2 separate regions of the Homo sapiens genome follow, and region 1 is linked to region 2. Evidence: promoter capture Hi-C in human tissues and cell types (Jung and others, 2019). All regions are on one chromosome and are shown on one strand. The core of a region is centred on a gene start or on the middle of the fragment in contact, and the rest is flanking DNA. Distances in the headings are between cores, read along the strand shown.

Region 1 (7,335 bases), core at 1,682-4,181, 97 kb after region 2:
TCTTTCCATAAGTGGTCATGAGGGTGTAACAAAAAAAAACCTTTCTTCCAAAAAGGGTGTGGAAGATAGTTTGCTGCAAAAGGGTCATTATCTAGTTGAGTGGTGACTGTGGGCTGGTATCATCACATATATCCAGGACTTGGTCAGTCGGTCAGCAATATTTATTGAACATCCCGCTGTGTGCAGGCCATCACACCAAAGGAAAAAGAGGAATCAGAAGGCCAGGTTGTAGTTATAACTGATGAGGTGGGACAGATGATTCTGGAAAATGCCTAAGAAAGTCTTAAACATATATATATAAAAATAAAGTCCATGGGACTAAAGAATGCTGAGTGGATCCAAGAGCACAACTAAATACTTTTCCAGAGTTGATTTTATCATTTACCTTGTTTGCTAAGAAGTAGAACACAGTGCCACATATAGAGAATAGCTGGTGTCTTGAGGGTTACAGTGAGGACATTGTACCTACCCACTGGGCCCTATAGCCTGCCAGGGGCTGGGGTTTAGGGGTGGAGAGGGTGGCTGACATTCTCCCTCAAGTGGGCCTGGCATCTGGTATACAGCATGCTGGGCCCTGGGCCTATGCCAGGGTTACCTGGTGGGTGCCAGCTTACTTTCTTTCATGGTCTAGGCCTGAGGAAGCTATACTGACTGTGAGTGAACAGGTATCTCAGGAAATCCATCAAAGCCTCAAGAATATGGGCCTTGTTGCTCTAAGCAGTGATAATACAGCATCTCTAATGGGACAGCTCCAGAACATTGCCAAGAAGGAGAACTGTGTCTGCAGTGTTATTGGTGAGTATGCTTGTGGGGTAGTAAGAATGGTGAGGGAAGAGATAGATCCCAACCGTGGAACCCCAACCTTTAACAACATGAAGCATGGTCATTAGGTACGTCATTGTTTAGCCTTGATTTTTTTCAAAATGCTGGGTTGAAATCATATCCGTCTCAGTTTAAAGACTAACTGTGGTTCTCAGGATGATTTGCACCCAGAAATTCATGACTTCTAGGTGTGGGATATGTCCAGCCGACCTGGTTAAGTCACTTGGGCCTACAGGTCATTCTCTGATGGCACCCAAGAAATCTGACATTCCCCCATCTCCCAACAAGAAACTAATGCTGAATTTAGCTGGAAGACATGTTCCTATAGTGGGGAATCCCCTACCCTCATGCTGGAGTGGAGGCCATGAACTTGGCCAGCCTGCTCCTAACCTTAGCCATCTGAAGGATCAGTCTAAGTTCCTCCTGTTATGTCAAACACTCACTAGGATCTAACTGATGGCTACTTAAACAATCTTTTGAATAATCTGAAATTTACTAACACACTAGTTTTTTATATTTGTCCTTGAGAGCAAGATAGCAGCCCCCTTTCCAAACAAAACAAATTTCATTATCTCTAGGTAGGGGGGCAGGTTGGTACATATCTGTTAACTTAGAACATGGGTGAGTAGAGTGCAGGGGGAATTTTCTCCCTGAAATCTGTTTGCCTTTTCCCTTATCAGTGTCTTTTCCTGCTCACAGATCAGCGGATCCATTTGTTTCTCAAATGCTGTTTGGTTCTTGGTGTGCAGCGGTCTCTATTAGACCTTCCTGGAGGCCTTACTCTCATTGAAGCAGAACTGGCAGAACTGGGCCAAAAGTTTGTCAACTTGACACATCACAATCAGCAGGTGTTTGGTCCCTACTACACTGAGATCCTAAAAACCCTCATTTCCCCAGCCCAGGCACTGGAAACAAAAGTGGAGTCTGTTTGATAGCGTCGGCTCAGAGCCCTGGTACCTTGGACCCAAGAGGAGGCCCATCATCTTCCTGGAGTAACATCACCAGTGACCAGCAGACAGTGAGCTTCTATCCCAGGCCCTGCAGCCAGTACACCAAGGCTGTAGGGATCAAGCATGTAAACACCAACTGGTCCATACCCATTCATTAATAAACTTCTTAAGTGCAAGAAATCCTCCATTTTTCCTGTGCTGCAGCTGAGGCCAAGCCCTAATGACTTCAGCCCTCAACTAGCTGAGAAGCCAGCAAGCCCTCAGTTTTCCCCTCTCTGGCTATGTGTACCTTTCAACATATAGAGCTGAACAGCCAAGATACCCAGGTGCTAGCCTTATTTTCTTTAAGGGTAAAGCATTACTCCTGGGGAGCTCTTAGACCTCTGGAATTATCCAAATTGTGAATATAAGGGTTTCTTTTGGAAGCCTTTGTTTTGTCCAGTTCACCTCAGGAGAGGACATGGTTTAGGGAAGTTAGTTCATTTCTAGGACCAAATTTCCCTAAAGGTTTCAGAGAATGCAACAAGAAGTCAAGGGATATTAAGAGCCTTAGTTTCCTCTTCTGTTGCATGGTCTGAAGCAATATGCATACCCGGGGCTGGATGAAAATGGATATTGGCTACAAGCAAGCATTCTGTTGAGGACAAGTTCAGAGTTCATGGGACCTCTCTCTCAAGTTATCCAGAGTTCAGACTTGGACAGTTAGGTCTGTGACTCACTTGTATCAAGTTTATTCTGGTCCTGTTCTCTAGCCCAGTAAGTCTCCTTTCCCTCATCTCTAAGCTTAGAACACCCGGTTTTTCCAGGCAGAGGTGATGTGGGCATTCAGAGGTGGAGCAGCCTCCATCCTTCTGGCTTCTCCATTCTGGGCAGTTGTGGTTGTAAGCTGTTGTTGGCATCACAAATAAGAGAGGTTCTAGGAAGGATTTGGGCTTGTCTCCTGAGATTGTAGAGACCAACTCATTTTCAGGCTGACTGCAGCAGACCAGCTCCAACCTAGTATGGCTGAAATGAAGAAAATGTTCAGTTCAGATTTAGAAAATGGAAATTCAATTATGTGTTCTCAAGGCAAGGTGAAGAAAAACAATGTTCTCATCATTTTAGGTGATGGAAGTTGCTGAGTGTTAACACACCTAATCTAGGAAGAACAACAGAAGGGGGATTTGAGTTCCATTAGGCCCAGTGTTTCCTTCTAATTGATTTCCTTTTTTAGAGGGTAGATCCTAGGTAGGTGACAGAGCTAGATCAACACAATGTGACTTTTACTATGACTAGAAAAGCTGGAGGGCCTGGATCATTTGCATTTTTCGTCTTATAACTAGACAGCTTCAGGATGGGGAAGCCCAGATAAAGTGGTATGTTTAATAAACAGTGAGGCTTGCCCAGTTGGATTCTCTGATTTGTAACTATTAATTTGAATTTTTAAAAAATCCACGTTTTGGAAACCTCATTATTTTAGAGGTAAAAGTACTCTGAAGGGATTCCTGGGAAGAAGATTGTCCAGTTGGCAGGTGCAGACCCTGGACTGATAATAGAACCTTGCTTTGTACTTCACAATTAAAATAGGGACTCATCAGTACCTTAGAAAATTTGAATTTATTTTCTTATGCTTTCTCATGGAGGAGACAGGGATCTTGTCCCTAAACAAGGAAAGATAGCTCCATTCAATCCTGCCCACTGGTTTGAGGGAATTTTAAAAAAATGTATATTTGTATTTTAAATTGTGGAGAAAATACATGTAATATGAAAGCTATTAGTGACATTGAGTACATTCAGAATGTTGTACAGCCATCACGACTAACTAGTTCTAGAACATTTTCATCACCACCAAAGGAAATCCCATTCCAGTAACCAGTCACTGCCCATTTTCCCCCATTCCCTTCCCCTGGCAACCACTAATCTTTCTGTCTCAATGGGCTTTCTGACTCTGAATATTTCCTATAAATGGAATCATATAATATGTAGCTTTTTGTGACTGGCTTCTTTCACTCATTTTTCAACATTCATTTGTGTTCTAGCATGTATTGGTAGTTCATTCTTTTTATAGCTAAGTAATATTCTGTCACATGAATATACCACATTTTGCTTATCCACTCATTAGTCCATGGGTATGACTTCAGCCCTCAACTAGCTGAGAAGCCAGCAAGCCCTTAGTTTTCTCTTCTCTGGCTATGTGTACCTTTCAACATATAGAGCTGAGCATTTTGGCTTTTGTAAACAATGCCACAGTGAACACTTGGCGTTATTTACAAAACTCATACATAAGTTTTTGTTTGAACACCTGTCTTCTATGTTTTTGAGTGTCTACCCATATATCCAGGAATAGAATTGCTGAGTTCTATGGTAATCCCTGCTTAATTTATTGAGAAACTACCATTTTGAGTTAGTATTTGTATATGGTGTAAGGAACAGATCCAGCTTTATTCTTTTGTATGTGGACATCCAGTTTTCCTAGCATTATTTGTTGAAGAGACTGTCCTATTCCCATTGATGAATGGTCTTGGTCTTTGACTGTTGTCAAAAATCGATTGACCATATATGCAAGGGTTTATTTCTGGACTCTATTTTATGCCATTTATCTATATGTTTATCCTTATGCCAGTAAGATATTGTTTTGATTACTGTAAGCTTTGTAAGTTTTGAAATTAGGAAGTATAAGTTCTCCAGCTTGGTTGTTTTTCAAGATTATGTGGCTATCCCTTCCATTTCCATATGAATTTTAGGATCCATTTCTGTAAAACAGGAAGTTGGAATTTTTGATAAGGAGATATATATATATAAATTTGGGGAGTATTGCTATCTTGTCTTCCCATCCATGAACACAGAATGTCTTTTCCTTTTGTTAGGTCTTTAATTTCTTTCAGCAACCTTTTATAGTTTTCAGTGTACAAGCCTTGCACTTCCTTGGTTAAATTTATTCCTAAGTATTTTATTCATTTGGATGTAATTGTTAATAGAATTGTTCTCTTAATTTCTGTTTCGTATTGTGCATTGGCAGTGTATAAAAGTAAAACCAATTTGTTTGTTGATCTTGTACCCTGCAACTTCACTGAGTTTATTATATCAAATACTCTGTGAATTCTTTAGTATTTTCTACATATGAGATCATGTTATCTGAGAATAGGAATAGTTTTGCATTTTTTTTTCCTAATTCTGATCCCTTTTATTTATTTTTCTTGCCTAATTTCTCTGGCTAGAACTTCCAGTACAATGTCTAATAGCAGTGATAAAAGCACTTGTCTTGCATCCTGATCTTAGGGGGAAAGCTTTCAGTCATTCACCATTGAGTATACAGTTAGCTATGGATTTTTCATAAATACCTTTTATCGTGTTGAGGAAGTTGTCTTCTATTTAGTTTGCTCACAATTTTTTTTTTTAATCATGAAACGGTATTGAGTTTTTTGTTTGATTTTTTTTTTTTTCTTTTTTTGTAGATAGGGTCTCGCTCTGTCACCCAGGCTGGAGTGCAGTGGGGCGATCACGGCTTACTGTAGCCTTGACCTCCTGGCCTCAAGTGATCCTCCTGCCACAGCCTTTTGAGTAGCTGGGACTATAGGCGTGTGCCATCATGCCTGGCTAATTTTTGTATTTTTTGTAGAGATGAGGTCTCACTGTGTGGCCCACACTGGTCTCAAATTCCTGGGCCCAAAAGATCCTCCCATCTTGGCCTCCTAAAATGTTGAGATTACATGCATGAGCCACCACACTTTGCCTTGGATTTTGTCAAATGCTTTTTCTGCATCAATTGAGATAATCATATGCTTTTCTTCCTTCAGTCTATTAATGATATGTTGTTTGATTTTCTTTTTTTTTTTTTTTTTTTGAGATGGGGTTTCACTCTATCGCCCAGGCTGGAGTGTAGTGGCACGATCTCGGCTCACTGCAAACTCCGCCTCCCAGGTTCATGCCATTCTCCTGCCTCAGCCTCCCGAGTAGCTGGGACTACAGGCACCCGCCACCATGCCCGGCTAATTTCTTTTTGTATTTTTAGTAGAGACGGGGTTTCACCGTGTTAGCCAGGATGATCTCGATCTCTTGACCTCGTGATCTACCTGCCTCGGCCTCCCAAAGTGCTGGGATTACAGGCGTGAGCCACCGCACCCGGCCTTGATTTTTCTTATATTGAATCAATACTGCATTTGTGGGATAAGTCCCATTTGATCATGGTGCATAATCCTTTTAATATGCTGTTGGATTCAGTTTGCTAGTGCTTTGTGGAGGATTTTTGCATCTGTATTCATAAGAGATATTGGTCTGTAGTTTTCTTGTGGTGTCTTTGTCTGGCTTTGGAATCAAAGTAATGCTGGCCTCTTCTGTTTTTTGGGGGAGGAAGAGTTCGAGAAGGATTGGTGTTAATTCTTTAAATGAGTGGTAGAATTCACCAGTGAAGCCATGTAGTACTGGACTTTTCTTTGTTGGGAAGTTTTGATTACCAAACTCTTTACTTGTATTTAGATTCTCTTTTTCGTGCTGAATCCATTTTGGTAATTGATATGCCTAGGATTTTGTCTATTTTATCTAGGTTATCTAATTTTTTACATATGGATTGTTCATAGTATACTCTTATAATCCTTTTTGTTTTTGTAAAGTTGGTAGTAATTTCCCCACTCTTATTTCTGATTTTAATTATGTATATGTTCTCTTTTTTTCTTTTTTTTTGAGACGGAGTCTCATTCTGTCACCCAGGCTGAAGTGCAGTGGCATGATCTCGGCTCACTGCAATCTCCGCCTCACCTCCTGGGTTCAAGCGATTCTCGTGCCTCAGCTTCCCGAGTAGCTGGGATTACAGGTGCCTGCCACCACCCCCAACTAGTTTTTGTATTTTTAGTAGAGATGGGGTTTCACTATGTTGGCCAGGCTGGTCTTGAAGTCCTGGCTGCAAGTGATCTGCCTGCCTTGGCCTGAGATTACAGGCATGAGCCACCACACCCAGCTGTTGTTTTGTTTTATTTTGTTTTTTGTTTTTTTGTTTTTGTTTTTTGTTTTTTAGATGGAGTTTCACTCTTGTTGCCCAGGCTGGAGTGCAATGGCACAATGTTGGCTCACTGCAACCTCCACCTCCCAGGTTCTCAGCCTCCCGAGTAGCTGGGACTACAGGCGCATGCCACCACGCCTGGCTAATTTTTGTATTTTTAGTGGAGACAAGGTTGCACCATGTTGGTCAGGTTGGTCTCGAACTCCTGACCTCAGATGATCCACCCACCTCAGCTCCCAAAGTACTGCGATTACAGGCATAAGCCACTGTGCCCAGCCTCCAGCCTGACAGTTAATGAGTAAAAACTATCACTTTCTAGCAGGCCCAAGAACCTTAAGACTATAGGTAAAATCTAAAATCTGCCTTGATTTGGCTTCTTAGCCTCAAAAAGTTTCTAAATCTGAAATTCCTATGTGATCAATGTAGATCTTTTATCAGCATTGCATAGTTTTTAACACACAAGTTTAGTATGTATGTTGTTAGATTTACACATATGGATTTCATTTTTTGAGTGATTGCAAATGGTGTTTATTTTTTAATATTAAGCTTTGATGAAGTAAAATGGATACACAAATAATGCCCATATTT
Region 2 (7,438 bases), core at 1,933-4,432:
TAAAATATACAGACAAGCACTTGAAAAACACTCAAAACCATGTCCCCTCATGCTCCCTCCCTTCCCAGTCACACAGGCTTACCCACCTACTCTTCCATACAGTTCTCACAGACACTAAAACAGCAGTTTACCCTTAGCAACTACGTCACAAGAAACACAGACATCCAGCTATGTTGCCTGTGGGTAACTGTGGTGAACCTCTCATGTGTGCACAGTCGCACACTCACCTTTACACTTAGGGCTCCCTTCCTTGTCTCCCCCTTTCCCCCCTTCCACATGACTTTGGTTTTCCCATTGTGGGAATCACTGATGAAAAGGGACAGAAACCCAGATACCCCCAGAGGTATAGTAACTCCGTGCAAGATACTTGCCAAGGGTATTTGATTTTAAAGACCTGCTAGTGCTTTATATAAAGCATGTGGCATTAAAGGCACACTTTCTGGCACTGCTGATAACCAGGAGATATGTTTGAAGGTAAGGCCTCCCTGATGCTCACAGACTGTGTCTATGGGTAAGGCTGTAAGGTTGCCCCGCCTGGTCAGTACTAGTTCTTCCTGCAGCATCTGCCTGCAAGTTTGTGTCCAGAGACATCCCTGTAACCCAGCAAACCTGCTATTAGGCAACCTCTGGCAGATGGGGTTTGTAGATTTCCTGAAGAGAAGGGTCAATGAAAGGCTTCCATTCTAGGCCAAGCTTAGGGATCAGAAGAAAAGAAGGAGGATACCAAGCTAACTGCGGTCCAGTCACAGGAAGGGTGGCCTGTGAATGAGATAAGCTGGGGACAAAAACTACTCTAAGTTCCTTGAGGGCAGGGGCCTTCACTCTGGCAGCATGTTCCTCAGTACCCAGCAGGGAGTCCAATGAAAGTGGAAGCCCTGGAGTACCATGCAGGGATTCTGACTCCCGTTCCTGAATCATGAGCTGATCTCCCATACTTGAGTGCCTTGGCTTGATGGCACCTGTCCCTTGGAGGGGTCTCCATCTGCCCCTGGGCCCCCCTCGAATACACTGCTTCTCCTTTGGTCCACAGCCTCACTAGGCCACTACAGACACTGGCTCCAACTTGAAAGAGGCCCTTATCTTGTCTCTAGGTTACTTCATGATATCTGTTCCTTCCTTCAGACTAAACTCCCCACCTAATTCCATGTTATGAGTAAGTCAGCACACACTACAAAAGCCAGCTTTGTTTATGAAAACACAAATCCACAGTGAGGAGAGGGGCTGCTCCCAGGTTGGGGGTGGCAGTGGCGATGCGCTGTCTGGAACCAGGACTGGAAAAGAGGCAGTGTGGGGCTGGAAGGTGTGGGGGCAGGGTCCAGTATTTGACAGCTGAGGATCTCTAGTGTTTCAGTTCTGTGAAAGGACAGGTTGGAGGGGGAAGAGGTTAGCTGAAGAGGCAGTGTTTGGGGAGAGGAGGGCGGCATTGATACAGCACCTTCCTCTTCACAGAGCAGGAGCCCATCCAATACAACAGAGCAGCTTAAGAGCCAAACGCTCAGGCTCTGGGACACAGCGACCTGTGTCGGACACTCAGGCTTCCCCAACTCCCAAGTTCAACTTTCCTTCTGGCCCAGCCATCTCCTCACCCAGCTGGCTTCAGGAGCCCCTGGGACAATAGGCAGAATCATACTCTCCTGGGCAAAACCTTGCCAGGAGGAATTTTCTTTTTGTCCATATAAATCTCTTGTCGGTGAGGACACGATGGGGGAGGGGTACAGCAAGAGGTCAAGGGGGAGGAGAAACTGTCCCGAGAGAACTGTAGTACATCAGCCTAGTCTCTGCCTGCACAGCCTTGGGACCTGCCAGGCGATGAGCTGGGGGTCAGGGACGGGGGCGGGAGGCCTCCCTGTCTCTCTTTAATTCCTAGAGGGATCTGTCAGAGCTCCCCGGCCTGGAATTCTACTTTGTTATTTTAATGCAATTCTGACCTGGATTTAAATGGAATTGGAAACCCGAGGCCTTAATAAATAAATATTATGATAAGAAATGAAAGCCATGCAAGACGAAAGAGATTTCACCCCAAAGAGGCAGAAACGCAACATTCCTGTCGGGAGCCAGTCACAGAAATTTTCTTCTCTTCTTCAGCCCCCTACCATCCGGTGAGAGATGAGTTGATTTTTCCATAAAAGATCCTATTTTTCTTCAACATTTTTCCACTGATAAGGCATCAACTTAGAAATGTCTAACTTTGCATGCGGGTTGGGGGTAAGGGAAAGAAATATACGGCACGGCTGAAAAGTTTTCATTATTCCCTCAGTCTCTCCAGGCCACAGCGTAAGTTTCTGGCAATGTTTGAGAGAAGAGAAAATTCTCTCTCAGATTTTGGAAGACAAGAAGTCTTTCGAAGATGCTGGGAGTGGATGAAGTCGAGCGGAATTCTGAGGCGCGTGGTCTCTTCTGCCCACCGCCCCCAAGAGTTTCTCACTCCTCTCTGCCGCCCCCAGCTTGTCCGGCTTTTCGCTCGGGGCGCAGCGCCCAGCGGTCGGGCCCCTGGCCGGGGAGTCCGGGTGCACAGAGCCGGGTTCTGACAGCAGCACGCTCCCCAGCACCTGCCCTGCCCCTCGGGAATCGCTCCTAGGCCCTGAGGCCCAGCAGCCAGGACAGCCCCCAGGCCGCGCGCCCCTCCTTCCTTACCTTGCGCGGCTTTGCTGTACTGGGCGGCGCGGGCGTGGACCAGCAGGACAAGCAGGCAGAGCCCGGGTACGCGCCCCGAGCCCATGGCTGGAGCTACTGGCGGCCCAGCCGCCGGGGCCGGTCTCGCGGCCAGGGGAGGGCGGAAGCCGGCCGGATCCCAGCTCGCAGGAGGGGGAGGGGAGGGGGCGCCCCGCCGGGGCCAGGCCGGGGGCTGCAGTCGCGGGGCGCGGACCGCGGCGCCCTCGGCGCGAGGCTCCCGATGCTACCGGCTCCTCCTGGCCGGACGTCGGGGAGAGCGAGGCGGAGAGTGCGACGAGGCGAGGGGCGCCAGGGGCGACTGACGGAGGGGAACCCCCGCCCTCTCCAAGCCGGCCTCTGCCAGCGGCGGCGGCGGGGCTGCTCCGTGTAATCCCACCCAATTCCCAGCTTCGCCGGGAGAGAGCTGCAGCCGGAGAGCGCGCAGAGCCCGAGCGAAGGACCTGAGAAAGGGGAGGGGAAACGCAGCGCCAGAAACACGCCCTTTCTGCCTCTCTTTCTTCCTCTCTCGCTCTTTCTCCGTCTCTCAGGCTCTTTTTCTTCGCCTTTCTCCTCCTCCTCCTCTTTCTCCTCCTCTCCTCGCTCCTTTTCGTTTTCTTCCTCCTCCCCCTCCTCCTCCTCCTCCTCCTCCTCCTTCTCCACCACCTCCTTTTTCGTGCCCTTTTTTCTTTCAAATGGGGCCTCGGCGCGGTGGCCGCTCCCCCTGCGCGCCCGGGCGCGGTGGCCCCCTCCCCAGGCTGCCGGGCCGCTGCCTGCAGGAATTTACAATCCGGCGATGGGGGAGCGGGCCTGGTCTCCATGGAGACGGCTTCCCCGGGAGCAGGGAGGTCAGGCGCAGACCGCGCGCAATCAATGGATCAATGCAAGCTCCGCTCGGCTCCAGACCAAACAGCACCGGGCTCCGACTCGTCCTCGCTCCCCTAGGAAAGAGTCGGGGAGCGAGGGTGCGTCCCCGCGCTCGCTCGCGAGGACGGCCGTGCGGCGCCAGGTTTGAACGCACACCTCCACCCGAGACAAAGAGGGTGCGAGGTGTTGGGGAGGCTGGGGCAGACGTGGACACACGGACACACGGGCACTCGGGCGTGTCCACCGACACAGCCTGACAGGGGACATAGGACCTCGGAACACACCGCCTCCGACACCAGGCCGAGTAACAACCTCTCAACTTTTACACCTACCACACCCCCAACCTCAAGACTCAGTCCCCATTCCTAGATGCGAGTCCACTTTGAGGACCAAAAAGAAAGTAGCCTCCGCCTGCTAAAACTGCCAGCTCCAGGGCAGACTCCCTTGCAGTTAAGGCCTTGGAGGTAAGCCTAATGAACCACCCTACCCGCAGAGACATGGACTCACATACAGACACTCTCATGTGGTCAGCACAGGGGCGAAAGCTACCCCACAGAATCATGTCTATGTGTATAAACACAGAGACATAGAGACAGGTACAAGAGGCTCCTCCAAACCTGCACCCCGCTTCAAGAGGTGGTCCTGACTGGTCCATTCTGAACCCTTCATCCTTCCAACTGAGGGGAAGCAGAGGAAAGAGAAAGGATATTTTTAAAACAGGGGCAAACCGCAGAAGGAGCAGGGTCTTCCAACCATGGATGCTGCCTCTTGACTGTTCACCCACTCTGTATCTTCTTTCCTTCCATTGTAAGGGAAAGAGGAAAGACCTCTTGAAAGGCTATGAAGACTTTCTTGGAGTGTGAGGCTGTGTTCAGAATGAGACCAGGCCAGGTCCAGTTTTCTACAGGGAAGATGCTGCTAGGACCCAGACTAGCCTCACAGAGCCCTCAGCGTACCCAGGAGGAAGAGGCAATGACCAAGATCTCCTCAAAGGTGATTCAGTTCTGAGACCTTCCATATTGGCTGCCCACATCAGCTGGGGCAAGGGGAGGACTTTGTTGGCAATGGTGCTGTCCACCAGGGAGAAGAGCTGAGCCCTTCCTTTCCTAGGGATTCAGTGGAAAAGTAGGATGGAAACAGACTCAAACTTCTTATCCTGGGATGAAGATTACTTTTGAACAAGTCATATGTCAATGGGCCTCAGTTTCCTCAGAAAACAAGAGGGTAGTGGATTCACTCAGTGGTGGAAAGGGGGCAGTGCCCCAAGGAAGCCTGGGGGAGGAGTCCTGGAGAACCTTGCATAGCATCAAAGATGACCTTTGGGATGGGAGCACATAGATCATGGGAATGGTGTGGAGGCCACAGCAAGGCTGGGTCAGATGATTGAGGTCCCTCCCATCCTTGTCACTCTAAGATGCCCTCCCTCCTTCATTCCACTGGCAAAACCCTCCCCTTGCAGCGGTTTTGCCTGCTGCCACCAATTATGTGTAGGGTTGGAGGACAAGTGTAAATTTGCCATCTTTTTTGCCCCCAACAAGAGAATGGTTTCAAAAAAGGAGAAAGAAGTGGAGGTTGCCGGACGGTGTCTGTGATCTCCATGGGGGCACAGAGAGAGAGAGCCGAGGAGCTCCCCCACGGCTGGGAGGGGAGATGGCACGCTGCCTTGCTTTGCTCTGCCTCTGCCTTCTTTGGACACTAGTGTAGCTCCTCCGGGTCCCTGGGGGGTTGGAGGGAGGGCCCCTACATCCTCCTTGAGGTGGGCAAGGAGGATTCTATAGGGGGATTATGGGTTATTTGGGGCCTTCAGTTCAGGGTGATTTCCCGGCCCTCTGAGTACGGATATTGCCCTGGCTTTCAGGGAGGGAGGTTTGGTGGGTTCTTCCACCTAAGCCACTATGTCTCTGGAAGATTGATTTTTATGCCCCGTAGTTGCCTTTTATCTCATCCTACCAGTTTTCCTCTGATGATTTCCTCTTTTCCTCTTGGACCAGATGAGCTACTCCTCCACATCTGGGCAAAAAGAGGCAGTTCCCTGCTCTTCTCTCCTGCTGCCACTCACCCAATCTGATTCCAGAGTACCCTCAGCCCTTCAGACTATTCTACAGGAGTAGAAGCAGGGCTTATATCACCAGGACACTGTGAATTGAGGTGCTGGTCCAATTCATATTGCCTTTTGCCCTGTCCTCTTCTGCAGGGACTCAGTTGGACAGTAACTCAGGAAGATGACAGGGAAGGAACAACAAGATGGCACTTGCAAGTGGTACTACAAAAGCAGCAGCAGCACGTGCCATATCATAACCAGCAGGGGCAAAATGTCCAGTGGGCTCTGGGCCTCCTACACGCACCTCTAAGGTTGCAGTTTGCTTTGGGGCTTCATTTTCCTTCAGGGATGCTTCTGACATTTGTTTCATTCTACTTGCTCCTGAAAATGTCTGAGGAGAAGACTGGCAGGGGTCAGGGATCCCCTAGCTGATAGATCTTGGTTCAGTCCTGTTTAGGGATCCTTCTGCCAGGGCCCACCAGGCTCAGGGGTTTCCCCTCCCCTGCAAAGTCTCCTTCCATGAGCGTTGCTTTTTCTTTCTGCTCCTCAGTTTCCCTATATATAAAATGAGTCCAATGACCCTACCTCGATGGGCAGTGCCATATAGTCTAATGGAGAGCACATACAAGCTGGAAGTAGATTGCCCTGAGATCATTGTTAGGCCCTACCATTTCCCAGCCATCTATTTTTCTTGGTGAGTTGTTTCACTTTTCTGAGCCTCAGCTTCCTCACCTGGAAAATAGATATGGTTATATGACCTCAAAAGTGTCCGTCCATCAGTGTCTGTGTGGGCTCTAAACAAACCTGCAATTCAAATCTCAGCTCTGGTGCTTTCTACCTCTGTGACTTCAGGGAAATTACTCAATCTCAGGGAGTTTCAGTTTTCTCATCTGACATAGGGGATAAAAACCTCGTAGGGTTATTGGTGTTAATTAAATGAGATAATATATAGAAAACACCTGGCACTGGCACATGTAGGCATTTAATAGGTAGAGGCTATTGTTGTTCTTTCCACTACTTCTCAGAAGAACAAAAGCCCAAGTGTTTGGGGCCAGCTGCAGTGGCTCACACCTGTAATCCAAGCACTTTGGGAGGCCAAGGTGGGCAGATCACTTGAGGTCAGGAGTTTGAGACCAGCCTGACCAACATGGTGAAACCCTGTCTCTACTAAAAATACAAAAATTAGCCAGGTGTGGTGGTGCACGCCTGTAATCCCACCCACTTGGGAGGCTGAGGCAGGAGAATCACTTGAACCTGGGAGTTGGAGGTTGCAGTGAGCCGAGATTGTGCCACTGCTCTGACCTGTGCGACAGAGCTCAAAAAAAAAATAAAAATAAAAAAGCCCAAGGGTTTGATAACAAAGGTATAGTAGTGGCTGGTGGGAAGAAGCAGCCTTGTCCCAGATTAGGCTTTGATGCCACTGGGTGTGAGCACAGCCAACTGGGCTAGATTCTCACCACCCCCAACAGGTTCCTGTCTGTCATACATACCTACTGAGAAGGTTCCAAAAATTCCATGCATTCCAGCACACTGCCCTTGTCATCAGCACTTATACATTATGCAGTTAGAAGAATATTCACTTGCCCACTAGGTAGCTCTGGAGTCTCTCCATCCCTACTGTCTTGCACCTCCTACTCTACCTTAAGAAGACATAGACACCCCGAGACACAAATTAGAGCTCATAGCTACCATTTACCAAGTGCTTTCTATGTTCCAGGCACTATACCAGGCACTCCATCACGAGCCTGTAAGGCAGGAATTGTTATCCCCATTTTATTGGTGGGAAAACTGAGGCTCAGGTAGATTAACTTACCCAGGATGACAGACTAAGAAAGAAGAAAGCCAGGACTTGGGGCCAGGCCTGACTCTGAAGCTTGTATA

What was found. The method cuts DNA at HindIII sites, captures the fragments that hold promoters and counts their contacts. A contact is called where the count stands out against the background at its distance.
Region 1: a contact is called between a fragment that was not itself captured here and the fragment with the promoter of SCUBE3 in region 2, in 6 of the 25 tissues and cell types used here (IMR-90 fibroblasts, bladder, dorsolateral prefrontal cortex and 3 more).

The regions. Positions count from the first base shown.
Region 1 is chr6:35,112,688-35,120,022 of GRCh38, reverse strand. TCP11 (t-complex 11) reads left to right here. Exons shown (of 10, transcript NM_001370687.1): 9 at 632-795; 10 at 1,522-1,948. The coding sequence ends at 1,754. Among named protein-coding and RNA genes, the nearest start is that of TCP11, 25 kb to the left of the region's middle. The HindIII fragment of the contact is 6,471 bases long and covers 1-6,166 here.
Region 2 is chr6:35,209,700-35,217,137 of GRCh38, reverse strand. It overlaps SCUBE3 (signal peptide, CUB domain and EGF like domain containing 3), which reads right to left and starts at 3,182. Exons shown (of 22, transcript NM_152753.4): 1 at 2,635-3,182. The coding sequence starts at 2,719. It overlaps LOC112267955 (a long non-coding RNA gene), which reads left to right and starts at 3,458. Exons shown (of 3, transcript XR_002956343.1): 1 at 3,458-4,509. RefSeq lists a silencer at 3,049-3,158. The HindIII fragment of the contact is 11,734 bases long and covers 1-7,438 here.